Regions from separate parts of the Homo sapiens genome. Here all the other regions are linked to region 2. The links are contacts of gene promoters, found by promoter capture Hi-C in human tissues and cell types (Jung and others, 2019). All regions are on one chromosome and are shown on one strand. Each heading gives the region's core, a stretch centred on a gene start or on the middle of the fragment in contact. The rest is flanking DNA. Distances are from core to core; before and after follow the strand shown.

Region 1 (3,442 bases), core at 916-3,415, 430 kb after region 2:
GAGCTAGCGTGGGGTCCGGCCACTGCACACAACCAGGCACACTGGCTGCAGTGGGGTGGACAGCTCTAGGCGCTGGCACAGGCACCAGCTCCATGCCAGGCTGCAGCGGGACCAGACGTACTGAAAGCGGCTTCCGCTGCGGGCATCAGCATTTGGACAAGTGGAACGCAGTGGTGCCCGAAAGCTCAGAGATGCCGGGAACTGCAGACCCCCAAAGAGGGTGTTACAGCATGTCACACCATGGCTCAGGGAGCCCCGAGGTCTGGGCTGCCAGAAGGGCTGCAGCTCTTCTCTCCTTCTCGTCGCCCACAACGTGGTGAGCAGGGAGCATGTTTCAGCCCTGCTTGTGTTACAGCTCTTTCAGTCCACCATTTGGTGGGTCCCGAGTTCTTTTCCTGCATCCGAGAAGAATGAGGTACGCAGACAACTGGAGGGTGAGCAAGGCCGAAAGGAGCTTCACTGAGCAACAGAACAGCTCTCAGGAGACCTGAAGTGGGTAGCTCCTTTCCACAGGGCAGAGAGGAGCTTCACTCTGCAACAGAACAGCTCTCAGGAGACCCGAAGTGGATAGCTCCTTTCCACAGGCAGGTCGACCTGATGAGTGTCCAGATGACCAGCTCTCACCCAAGAGGAGACCTGCAGGCAGGTCCTTTTAAGGAGACTCAAAGCGGGTAGCTCCTTCCTGCAGCTGGTAGTCCTGACAGCCGGCTGAGTCTGCTGAGACCAGGGGTTTTTATGGGCTCAGAAGGGAGGAAGTGCATGCTGCTTGGTCTGTGGGTGTCCATGGGCAGCCCAGAAAACACCACAAGTTCTTACTCTAGCCCTGGACTCCACCAGGAACTGCCAGACCAACCCCCAGGCTTCAGGCATTCCCTGGCTTGAAGGGGGGATTTCACTGGGAACCCACCCTTTTCCACCCAGGAACCTGTCTGCCTCCTGCCATCAACATGCCCTCCATGGTGCCCAGACTGTGCCAAGGGGCGCCTGCAGGCCCAAACCAAGCCACCGTCATCAACCCCCTGACTGGCTTCCCTCCCACGCACATGGGTGCCCAAAGTTTAGAGGGGGCTGAGGTGGCAGGGGGCTGGCGTGTCAGTGCCACCTCTAGCATGCTCAACCTGGCCAGGTCACGACAACACCTAGGTTTGGCCCAACTTTGCTCTGCAACAGAGCAGGTGCAGGAGCAGAAAGAGGCCAGGGAATGGGAGCAGGCACTTCTGAGCCTGTGGGCGCTGGGAGCTTCCCAAGCCCTGAAGAGTGCAGGGATGCCCAGGTCTGGAGCCGCAGCTGGGCGGCTGCAGCTGTGCCCAGAAGTGTGGGACTCCAGCCCTGCCGATTCAGTAGGGGCAGGGCTCCTGCCTGTAGCCAGCCCCTGTGGGCTTCGTGGAGCCGTGAGCCTCAGCTGCGTTTCCCTCACTGCAGCTGGCATCGCAGCAGCGGCTGTTACAGACGGGCCACTGGTGCCTTTAGTTACAAGAGTTTTAATGATAAAATTCAAGTTATCACAGAAATGGTAGTATATAGCCAGCTGTTTTATATATTGTGAAGTATAAGTAACATATAATTTTGATACAGGAGTTTCTTAACTATTCCTGCTAATGGACCTATGAATAGGCCAGAAAAATGAAATCCACCGAGAATCTGTAAACTTCATTTTCACGTCAGCCTTCTCCCCACAGAACTGTATTAATGCCACCAAAAAAGTAAAATATTTAAATATAATGTTAACAAGTAATGAACCACACAGCAATAGAAGCAAAGGGACTCTTGAAGTCAAAATATCTTGAAGTCAAAATATTTTGCAATTACTGAAATAGTATAACACTTTTCCCTACTCTTTCTTTTTTTTTTTTTTTCTTCAAACCATCAAAATCCGTTGCATACTTTCTCACCTTTAAATAGGAAACCAGAGGCTGGGTACAGTGGCTCACACCTGTAATCCCAGAATTTTGGGAGGCCGAGGTGGTCGGATCATTTGAGGCTAGGAGTTCAAGACCAGCCTGGCCAACATGGTAAAACCCCATCTCTATAAAAAATACAAAAATTAGCCTGGCGTGGTGCCGCATGCCTGTAATCCCAGCTACTCAGGAGGCCGAGGCACAATAATTGCTTGAACCTAGGAGGTGGAGGTTGCAGTGAGCTGAGATCACGCCACTGCACTCCAGCCTGGGTGACAGAGCAAGACTGTCTCAAAAAGAAAAAAGGAAACCAGAGACCAGGGAAATACCCTTTACCTTTACCTTTGCGCTTAGCTAGATCATTTGCAAGCAGAATTTTATACTTTGCCTGCTTTGCTCTTTCAGATTTCCAGATACACAATTCCATTATATAGTTTCTTGATTTTCCCCTTGGGAAAATCATTTATTTCCTTGTTGATATTACTTACAACTACTTATTTTCTTTATTAAAGAGAAACTTATTTTTATTCAGCCCATAAGGGAAAAAGGGAACAACATTTCTGCCTAGACCAGAGATCCTCAACTTTGGTTGCACATTAGAATCACCTGTGGATCTTTTAAAATACAGATGCCTAGGCAAATCAGAATCTCGGGCAGGTGGGGCTTGGGTGTAAGTATTTTTGCAAGCTAGGCTGGCTGGGCACGGTGGCTCACACCTGTAATTCCAGCACTTTGGGAGGCCAAGGCGGGTGGATCAGGAGGTCAAGAGATCGAGACCATCCCGGCCAACATGGTGAAACCCCATCTCTACTAAAAATACAAAAATTAGCTGGGTGTGGTGGCGCATGCCTGTAGTCCCAGCTACTCAGGAGGCTGAGGCAGGAGAATCGCTTGAACCCGGGAGGCGGAGTTTGCAGTGAGCTGAGATTGCGCCACTGCACTCCAGCCTGGCGACAGAACGAGACTCCGTCTGAAAAAAAAAAACCTAGGCTGGATACAGTGGCTCATGCCTGTAATCCCAACACTTTGGGAGACAGAGGTAGGAGGATTGCTTGAGCCTAGGAGTTTGAGACCAGCCTGGGCAACATAACAAGTCGCAGTCTCTACAAAAAATTTAAAAATTAGGTGGGCGTGGTGGCACATGCCTGTAGTCTCAGTTACTCAGGAGGCTCGGGTGGGAGGATCACTTGAGCCTTAGGATCACTGAGTGAAGGATGCAGTGAGCTATGATGGTGCCACTGCACTTCAGCCTGGACGATACAGCAAGATCTTGGCTCTAAAAATAAAAATAAATAAATAAATAAATAAATAAATAAATAAATAAATAAAAGCTTCCCAAAGTTTGTGACATGCAAAATAGGGCCCATTCAAGGTTTCCCTCTGTCCTCCCCATATAGATGCCAAGGAGAGGCAGTAGGACTATTTGACCTTACAGTCCACTGGTTCTCAACCGTATCATTAAGGAAAAATTTAAAAATAGAGGTGTCCAGTCCAGGAAAATATTTATTTTTGTAAAATTTCAAGACACACTGCATGTTCCATTA
Region 2 (3,401 bases), core at 51-2,550:
GAAATATTTAACATCCTAACAGCCCTAAACCAACGCTCAATTAGCACAACAGTTTACAATCTTCTCTACCCACAGCCTGATGCGAGGCTCTGGGACTAGACTATTTAGCCAACAGTTCTTGCAAAATTAACTGACTTATAAGTAAATAGTAATTTCAACACCTCACTGCTAATGCTGTAACAACTCTGCAGACCTAGGGAGCAAGTACGGTTTGCAGAGCACTGGGAAGGCTCTGAAGTGACCTTTGAACTGGGCCTCAAAAAATTTTGGGTTTGGCAAAAGTCAAATCTCTTAGGCTTCAAATTCCAGGCACAAGGATTGTTGGGTTTGATTTCATTATCCAGAAGCAATGGGGATACAGAATTGTGATCTCATGTGTAGGGAACTGTGGGGGTTTTTTCTACTTTAACCCCAGTGAGACTTTGTAGAGTGTGGGGTAGAGAAAAGGCTCATGAATATGCCTGAAGCCTAACTCAGCACCTTTCTGAGGAACTGACTGCCAAAATGGTAATGGAGAGGGGAAAATATGACCTACTTTCACAAGTTACCTTGACTGCCTCAGGGAAACCTGCTGTGGTAGTGTTTCTTCTGGGTGAAAGACCAGGTAATTACCTGGGTGCTGGTCTCAGACTTACCAGTTTTGAATCCCTGTTTTAACCACTCACTATCGATATGACCTTGGATAAGTTACCTAACCTTTCTCTTACTGTCCTTTTCCGTAAAATGGGGATAACAGATAGTAGTTATTTCTATGAGTGGTTATGAGAACCAAGCTATTAGATAGCGGGAAAGCACACAGTAAGCGTTCAAGGAACTGCTATTGTTATTAAAAGCCTCCTTTGGAAGAAGGACATTGAGGCCCAGAGAGAGAACAGAACGTCCAGCCACACAGCAAATCCGTGATGAAGTTGGGACTGGAGTATGGGTCTCCTGAGTCTCAGCCCAGGACTCTATCCCTCTTCCCGAGTCCTCGGAGTTCCCGGATGGAGTCACATTTGTTCACGGCCAGGGAGGAAGGTTTGATGGAGGCCTGCAGGAAACAACAGCCAGGCGCAAGGCTTTGGGAGTTGAAGCATAGCTTCTGCGAGATAGAAACAAGGTTGACATGGGCACTCGTGCAGAATGACGGGCTCCTTTTGGACTCCCAGGACTACAGTCCCTTATGCACCTTGGGATCTGCGGCTAGCCCCTGCGTAAAGAGGGACGCGTAGTCTTTTCCCTGCCCCGCCCTGCCGGGGCGCCCGCCTCCGAGGCCGCCCTCGCTTCGTCCTTCCCAGCAAGCTCCGCGCCGGCGCCGGCTATTGATTGGCTGAGGCGGGAGCAGGCGGCTGGCCGGCAGCAGTTACTCGGGGTTTCCGGTGCGAGGCCAGAGGTGGGGAAGCCATCGGACGTCGGCGGTGAGGTACGTGCAGCGGCGGCCGGTGGGCGAGACTATTTGAGAGTGTGCGGGCCGGGATGTTCTCGGCCTGTGGGGAAATCACGCCAACTCCCCGCGTGGGCCGGGGGCTGTCTGGGGATATGCGCATGCGCGGGCGTGCCTCGCGGCTTGAGGGCGCGCGGGGCGTGGGTGGCTGCGCGCGCGGGGGGCGCACGTGGGGCCTGAGGGGCGGGGGCGGTGCCGGGAGTCCCGCCACGTCAGTCTCCGGCCCTGAGCCAATCCCGCGCCCGGCCTGCCGCGAGGGGGCCGGTTGTGCCGGGAAGTGGCTCCAGGGAGAAGAGGCCTCTTCCCTCACCCGCTGTGGGAGCTGCGCCCCGAAAGCCTGCCCCGGCACGTCGGGCTCTCCTGACCCGCCAAGACCAGAGAGCCGTTGGCGCCCTCCGCCCGGGCCTGCCGGTCCGTTTATTTTAAGAAGCTTTGTGCGCCTGCTGTGGGGATTTCTGATCCAGGCTGCGAAGAATTTCGAAGTCTGGAAAATAGCAACTGTGTTTGTTTCTAAAGGATCTTCTCCTGACCCAGCATCGCTCATCACAATGAAGAACCAAGACAAAAAGAACGGGGCTGCCAAACAATCCAATCCAAAAAGCAGCCCAGGACAACCGGAAGCAGGACCCGAGGGAGCCCAGGAGCGGCCCAGCCAGGCGGCTCCTGCAGTAGAAGCAGAAGGTCCCGGCAGCAGCCAGGCTCCTCGGAAGCCGGAGGGTGTGTGCCAGCTCTGCGTTGCCAGCGGGCAGGGGGAGGAGCTGTGGGGTCGGCCTCGCTTCTGGACTTACAGGCCGAGGCCAGGTTGTCCGGGAGGAGGAGATGTAGAATGAGAGGACAGTGCTGGGGGCCGCGGTCCCCCCTGCGCTCTGGCGAGTTGGCGGAGCTGCCCCCTCTAAGCACAGGAACAGAGTTCTGGAGAGAAGCTCCGACGGGATTAAGTCAGGTGGCAGCCAAACGAGGCACCCAGTCAGGAAATCCAGGTCCCGTTAGAAACACCTCAGCCACCAGCAGCTAACTGCCCTTCCTGTTTGAGGCATTTCTAGAATGATCTGAATGGCAAGAAATGGTTTTGTGGGGGGGAAGGAGATGGACTAGAAGTTGCTCCGTGCCATCCCTGTGTGCTGATGCTTTACATACTTTTATGATCTAACAAATATGTTCGGGTGGTAGTGAGAAATAGTTGTGTCATTTTACAAGTAAACAGACTTAAAGAAGTTAGGCAACGATTACTATAATTTCTTGATTTAAAAGATGTTTCGAATCTAAATTCTGACAGGAACTAGATTTGCTGAATGATACTCCATTCTTGCTTCTCAGTTTCCATAAAAAAAAAAGTTAGGCAACATTTAACTCAAACTGATGAGTTTGGCTGGGCCTGAAAAATCCCAACCAGTGGTATAATCGTCTTCTTTCTCACTCTACCCCTCATCCTCTCCTGCTGTAGGGGCTCAAGCCAGAACGGCTCAGTCTGGGGCCCTTCGTGATGTCTCTGAGGAGCTGAGCCGCCAACTGGAAGACATACTGAGCACATACTGTGTGGACAATAACCAGGGGGGCCCCGGCGAGGATGGGGCACAGGGTGAGCCGGCTGAACCCGAAGATGCAGAGAAGTCCCGGACCTATGTGGCAAGGAATGGGGAGCCTGAACCAACTCCAGTAGTCAATGGAGAGAAGGAACCCTCCAAGGGGGATCCAAACACAGAAGAGATCCGGCAGAGTGACGAGGTCGGAGACCGAGACCATCGAAGGCCACAGGAGAAGAAAAAAGCCAAGGGTTTGGGTGAGCAGAGGGCGGCTCTTTGTGAAGCTGGTGAGGAGAGGGAGTTTGGACTTGACGTTCTCTGGGCCAGTCTGTTCTGCCAGGATTCAAAGGAAAACGGTACTTCTCAGAGCAGCAAGTCACTCTAGTCTAATCAAAGCCAGGGATGTGGGGGCCACGGCATAGAGAGATGCAGGAGTTACCAGCACAAAGCCTTCT
Region 3 (3,905 bases), core at 65-2,564, 360 kb before region 2:
CATTTCTTTCTTACCCTCACAGGGACTGGGTCTGGTGAGGATGTCAGGGGCCTTCCAGGGGGCTCCTCTTTGCTGAGTGTGGGGCTTCTTCTGTCACACCCTGGAGAACTCATTCCACCGTCTCTGGCCTCCCTGGGCCTGAGGCAGCTCACCTCCTCCACTCCTGCAAGCCTCTCCCTGCAGGCCAGAGCTCTCTCTGGGAGGCCAGCAGACCTGCTACAAAGTTTCCTGGGGCAACTGTCATCTAAGATGTCACACAGAGAAACCTGGAGCCTCTTGGAGGTCAGAGCTCTCCCCTGAGTAGGCACCGAGGGCAGCTGCATGTGGAGCCCAGGAGCCAGCATCGAGCCCCGGCTCTGTACCACAGCTAGCAGCTCCAAGACCCCTGGCCGGACCTCAGCAGCACCTGCAGCCCGGGAGCTGCCACCTCGAAGGGCCTCCTTCCTGGGGATCTTCCTTCTGCTGCCAGCCCTGACTCCGGGCCCAGAGCTTGCTCCCGGCCCATCTGGTGACAGGCCTGGCATGGAGCTGGCTCCTTCCATGTTCTGTAAAAGCTCACAGTTGTGTTGGGGACTGAGCACAGGGTCTCCTGTGCTGGGGCCTTCTACGTCCCCCGCCTGGGACATGTCTGTCCACCTACCTGGGCCAAAAGCACAACACGGGCCCTGTGTGGAGACAGAAAGAGGAGACTTTGTCTTGGAGAGTCCGACCTGTCAGCCCGTTCAGTGGGAACTGGGAGGAGCCCCTCTTCCAGCCAGCTCTCCCAGACCCTTCCACTCCTGAGGCCTAGGGGTGAGCACTCCAGGGAGGGGAGCACCCAGCAGGAGCTGGTGTCCTGGGTGAGGGTGGAGAGGCCTGCCTCCAAACAGGGCCGAGCTACAGTGGCCTCCAGGGTCTTCTTGTCTCTGAGAGTTCACACATTCGCTTAAATGGGACCTAATAAGATACCATTTATTTATGACTTATGTGCTTATTTCATTTCATACTGGCAGCCACAGGTGAGGACACTGAGATTCTGAGATGTTAAGACACTCACCCAAGGAAGCACAGGAAGTGGAAGGGCCAGGAGTCTCTCTCCCAGTTCTCACACTGCGCAAGGAGCAGATACTGAACGGGGTTCGTGCCCATAACCCTTCTCGTCTCTCTCCCATCGGTCCCGTTCTGAAAGGCGCCCCACCCAGGTTCCCAAGCCTTACTGGGACAGTCCCCCAGCATCCAAGAAATCCGGGCCCCATCGGTCGCGTCGCTCTCACCTGGGCTTCCCTGAGTTTTCCCTCCTGGGGTTCCACCCACTAGCTGAAAAGGAGCTGAGATCACGTGATGCGGGGGAGGGAGGCCCTTGCTGAGGGATAGGGGCGGAGTCCCTGATGATGAGCAAAAGGCTGCTCCCCAGGCGTGCTGGCGTTCCTGCCCCGGCAGAGGGCGCCCTCTTCCTCCTGAGGGCTTCCTGGAGGAGGTGCCAATCCTGGCTCCCAAGCAGAGGTAGGTGGGTGCATGGGGCAGCGAGGGGCCTTGGCTGCCTGCCTGAGAGTTTAACTTGATCCTACCGCAATAGTCCCTGAGCCAGTAGGACAATGTCAGAATTACCTAGATTTTTTGCCTAATTTTATTTTATTTTATTTTTAAACTTTTATTTTAGGGTCAGAGGTCCATATGCAGGTTTTTAATATAGGTAAACTTGTGTCACGGGGGTTGTTGTACAGATTATTTCGTCACCCAGTTATCAAGCCTAGTACCCAATATTTATTTTTTCTTATCTTCTACTGCCTCCTACCCTCCACCCTCAAGCAGGCCCCAGTGTCTGTTGTTAACCTCTTTCTGTCCATGTGTTCTCACCATTTAGCTCCCACTTATAAGTGAGAACATGCAATATTTGGTTTTTCCGTTCCTGCATTAGTTTGCTAAGGATAATGGCCTCCAGCTCCATCCACGTTCCTGCAAAGGACGTGATCTCATTCTTTTTTATGGCTGCATAGTATTCCATTGTGTATATGTACCACATTTTCTTTAGCCAATCTGCCATTGATGGGCATTTAGGTTGATTCCATGTCTTTGCTATTGTGAATAGTGCTTGCCTAATTTAAAAAGAAAATCTCAAATATAATTAATGTAGATGGAAATGCAGAATCAATTCCAATAGAAGGTTAGAAATAAAAAGTTTAAAGCTATCTCTCATTTCCCAATACCCCAACTCCTGGAAACAACTGTGTTTTGTTTTTTGTTTTTTACCATGTTTGTCATCATGTTAATTTTTTAAATTTCATAACTGTAAATAATATACTCATGCCTCTATTACTTGATTTATTAATTTTAACTGTGTCTGTTGTATCTGTTGACTTCCTGCTGTGGTGATTTTATTAACCACCCTTTCCCCCTTTCTCTTCCGCTTTTCATATATATATATATATATATATTTTTTTTTTTTTTTTGAAACAGCGTCTCGCTCTGTCGCCCACGCTGGAGTGCAGTGGCACAGTCTCAGCTCACTACAACCTCTGCCTCCCAGGGTCAAGTGATTCTCCTACCTCACCCTCCCGAGTAGCTGGGACTACAGGCACGTGCCACCATGCCCTGCTAATTTTTGTATTTTTCGTGGAGACAGGGTTTCACCATGCTGGCCAAGCTGGTCTCAAACTCCTGACCTCGTGTTCCACCCACCTCAGCCTCCCAAATTGCTGGGATTACAGGCGTTAGCCACCGTGCCTGGCCCTCTTTTTTATATTTATATTTTAAATTTTACTATTGGTTTCTATTATCACTTTGAATACTATTCTTAAATGTCTGTTTCTTCTGTATATTGTATCTCTTGACTCTTCTCTGTGTGAAATGGATAATTTCCCTTGATGTCCCCTCCCTGCTTCTGCCGTTATCCATGAACTAAGCTTTTATTTTTGTATCGCTGAGGTTTATAGCATTTACATTCTATTCGGTAAAGATAATTCAGTTTACCGTTGTTTACCTGTAGATTGATTCTTAACACTGAAAGCCAAATGACATTTATAATGTTATGATTATGTAAATACTTTTACTGCAGAAACAGTGGTGTTTGGCTTTTTTTTTTTTTTTTTTTTTTTTTGAGATAGGGTCTGGCTCTGTCGCTCAGGCTGAGTTGTGGTAGTGTAATCATAGCTCACTGCAGCTTTGACCTCCCAGGCTCAAGTGATATTCCCCTCTCAGCCTCCTGAGTCGCTGGTACTACAGGCATGCACCGCCATGCCCAGCTAATTTTTTTTTTATTTTTGGTGGAGACGAGGTCTCACTATGTGGCCCAGACTGGTCTCGAACTCCTGAGCTCAAGCGATCCTCCCATCTTGGCCTGGGATTTCAGGCGTGAGCCACTGCACCCGGCCAGAACCAGAGATTTGATAAGTCTGATTGCGAGGGAGATGGAATTCCCTGGCACTAAACCTGTGCCAGGTGAGACTGTGAGAACCTTCCAGGCCAATGGAATACTAAATCACAGTTAGACTCAATAAATTAGATCTATATATCAACATGAATGTATCTCAATGATATAATGTGGAATTTTAAAAACAGCATAATATGAATAACAAGGGAAACCGAGTCTGGAGTACACAGGAACTCCCTGTACTAATCTTCAGATTTTTCTGTAGATCTAAAACTATTCTAAAAAACAAGGTTTATTACAAAAAACAAACCAAGCTATTGGGTAATCCATATTGAAAACTGTCATGATCTGGCAGTCAGAGTCATAGATGAGGTAAGAGTAGAGACTGGATGTCACCAATGACCAAAATTACTGCTCTAAGGAAATAGTTTTTGTAAATGAGAAGCCCTCCCTCTAAGGAATGTCTTGGTCATGATGGCAGAAAGTTGACCAGGTTCCCTAAGACCAGTGAACCAAGCCATTCTGGTCCATTTGGATAATGGAAGTCTCCCACATT

What was found. The method cuts DNA at HindIII sites, captures the fragments that hold promoters and counts their contacts. A contact is called where the count stands out against the background at its distance.
Region 1: a contact is called between a fragment that was not itself captured here and the fragment with the promoter of TXLNA in region 2, in 1 of the 25 tissues and cell types used here (aorta).
Region 3: the fragment with the promoter of SPOCD1 here is called in contact with the fragment with the promoter of TXLNA in region 2 in 2 of the 25 tissues and cell types used here (lymphoblastoid cells and small bowel).

What each region holds. Positions count from the first base shown.
Region 1 is chr1:32,606,154-32,609,595 of GRCh38, forward strand. LOC102723870 (a long non-coding RNA gene) reads right to left here. Exons shown (of 3, transcript XR_426677.5): 3 at 2,396-3,174. Among named protein-coding and RNA genes, the nearest start is that of ZBTB8OS, 43 kb to the right of the region's middle. RefSeq lists an enhancer at 427-927. The HindIII fragment of the contact is 3,211 bases long and covers 561-3,442 here.
Region 2 is chr1:32,178,375-32,181,775 of GRCh38, forward strand. TXLNA (taxilin alpha) reads left to right here and starts at 1,301. Exons shown (of 11, transcript NM_175852.4): 1 at 1,301-1,402; 2 at 1,940-2,140; 3 at 2,868-3,203. The coding sequence starts at 1,972. RefSeq lists enhancers at 479-1,238, 1,239-1,997, 1,885-1,964, 2,085-2,244, 2,255-2,304 and silencers at 1,175-1,364, 1,505-1,684. The HindIII fragment of the contact is 8,351 bases long and covers 1-3,401 here.
Region 3 is chr1:31,814,708-31,818,612 of GRCh38, forward strand. SPOCD1 (SPOC domain containing 1) reads right to left here and starts at 1,315. Exons shown (of 16, transcript NM_144569.7): 1 at 1,254-1,315; 2 at 1-665. The coding sequence starts at 626. The HindIII fragment of the contact is 15,941 bases long and covers 1-3,905 here.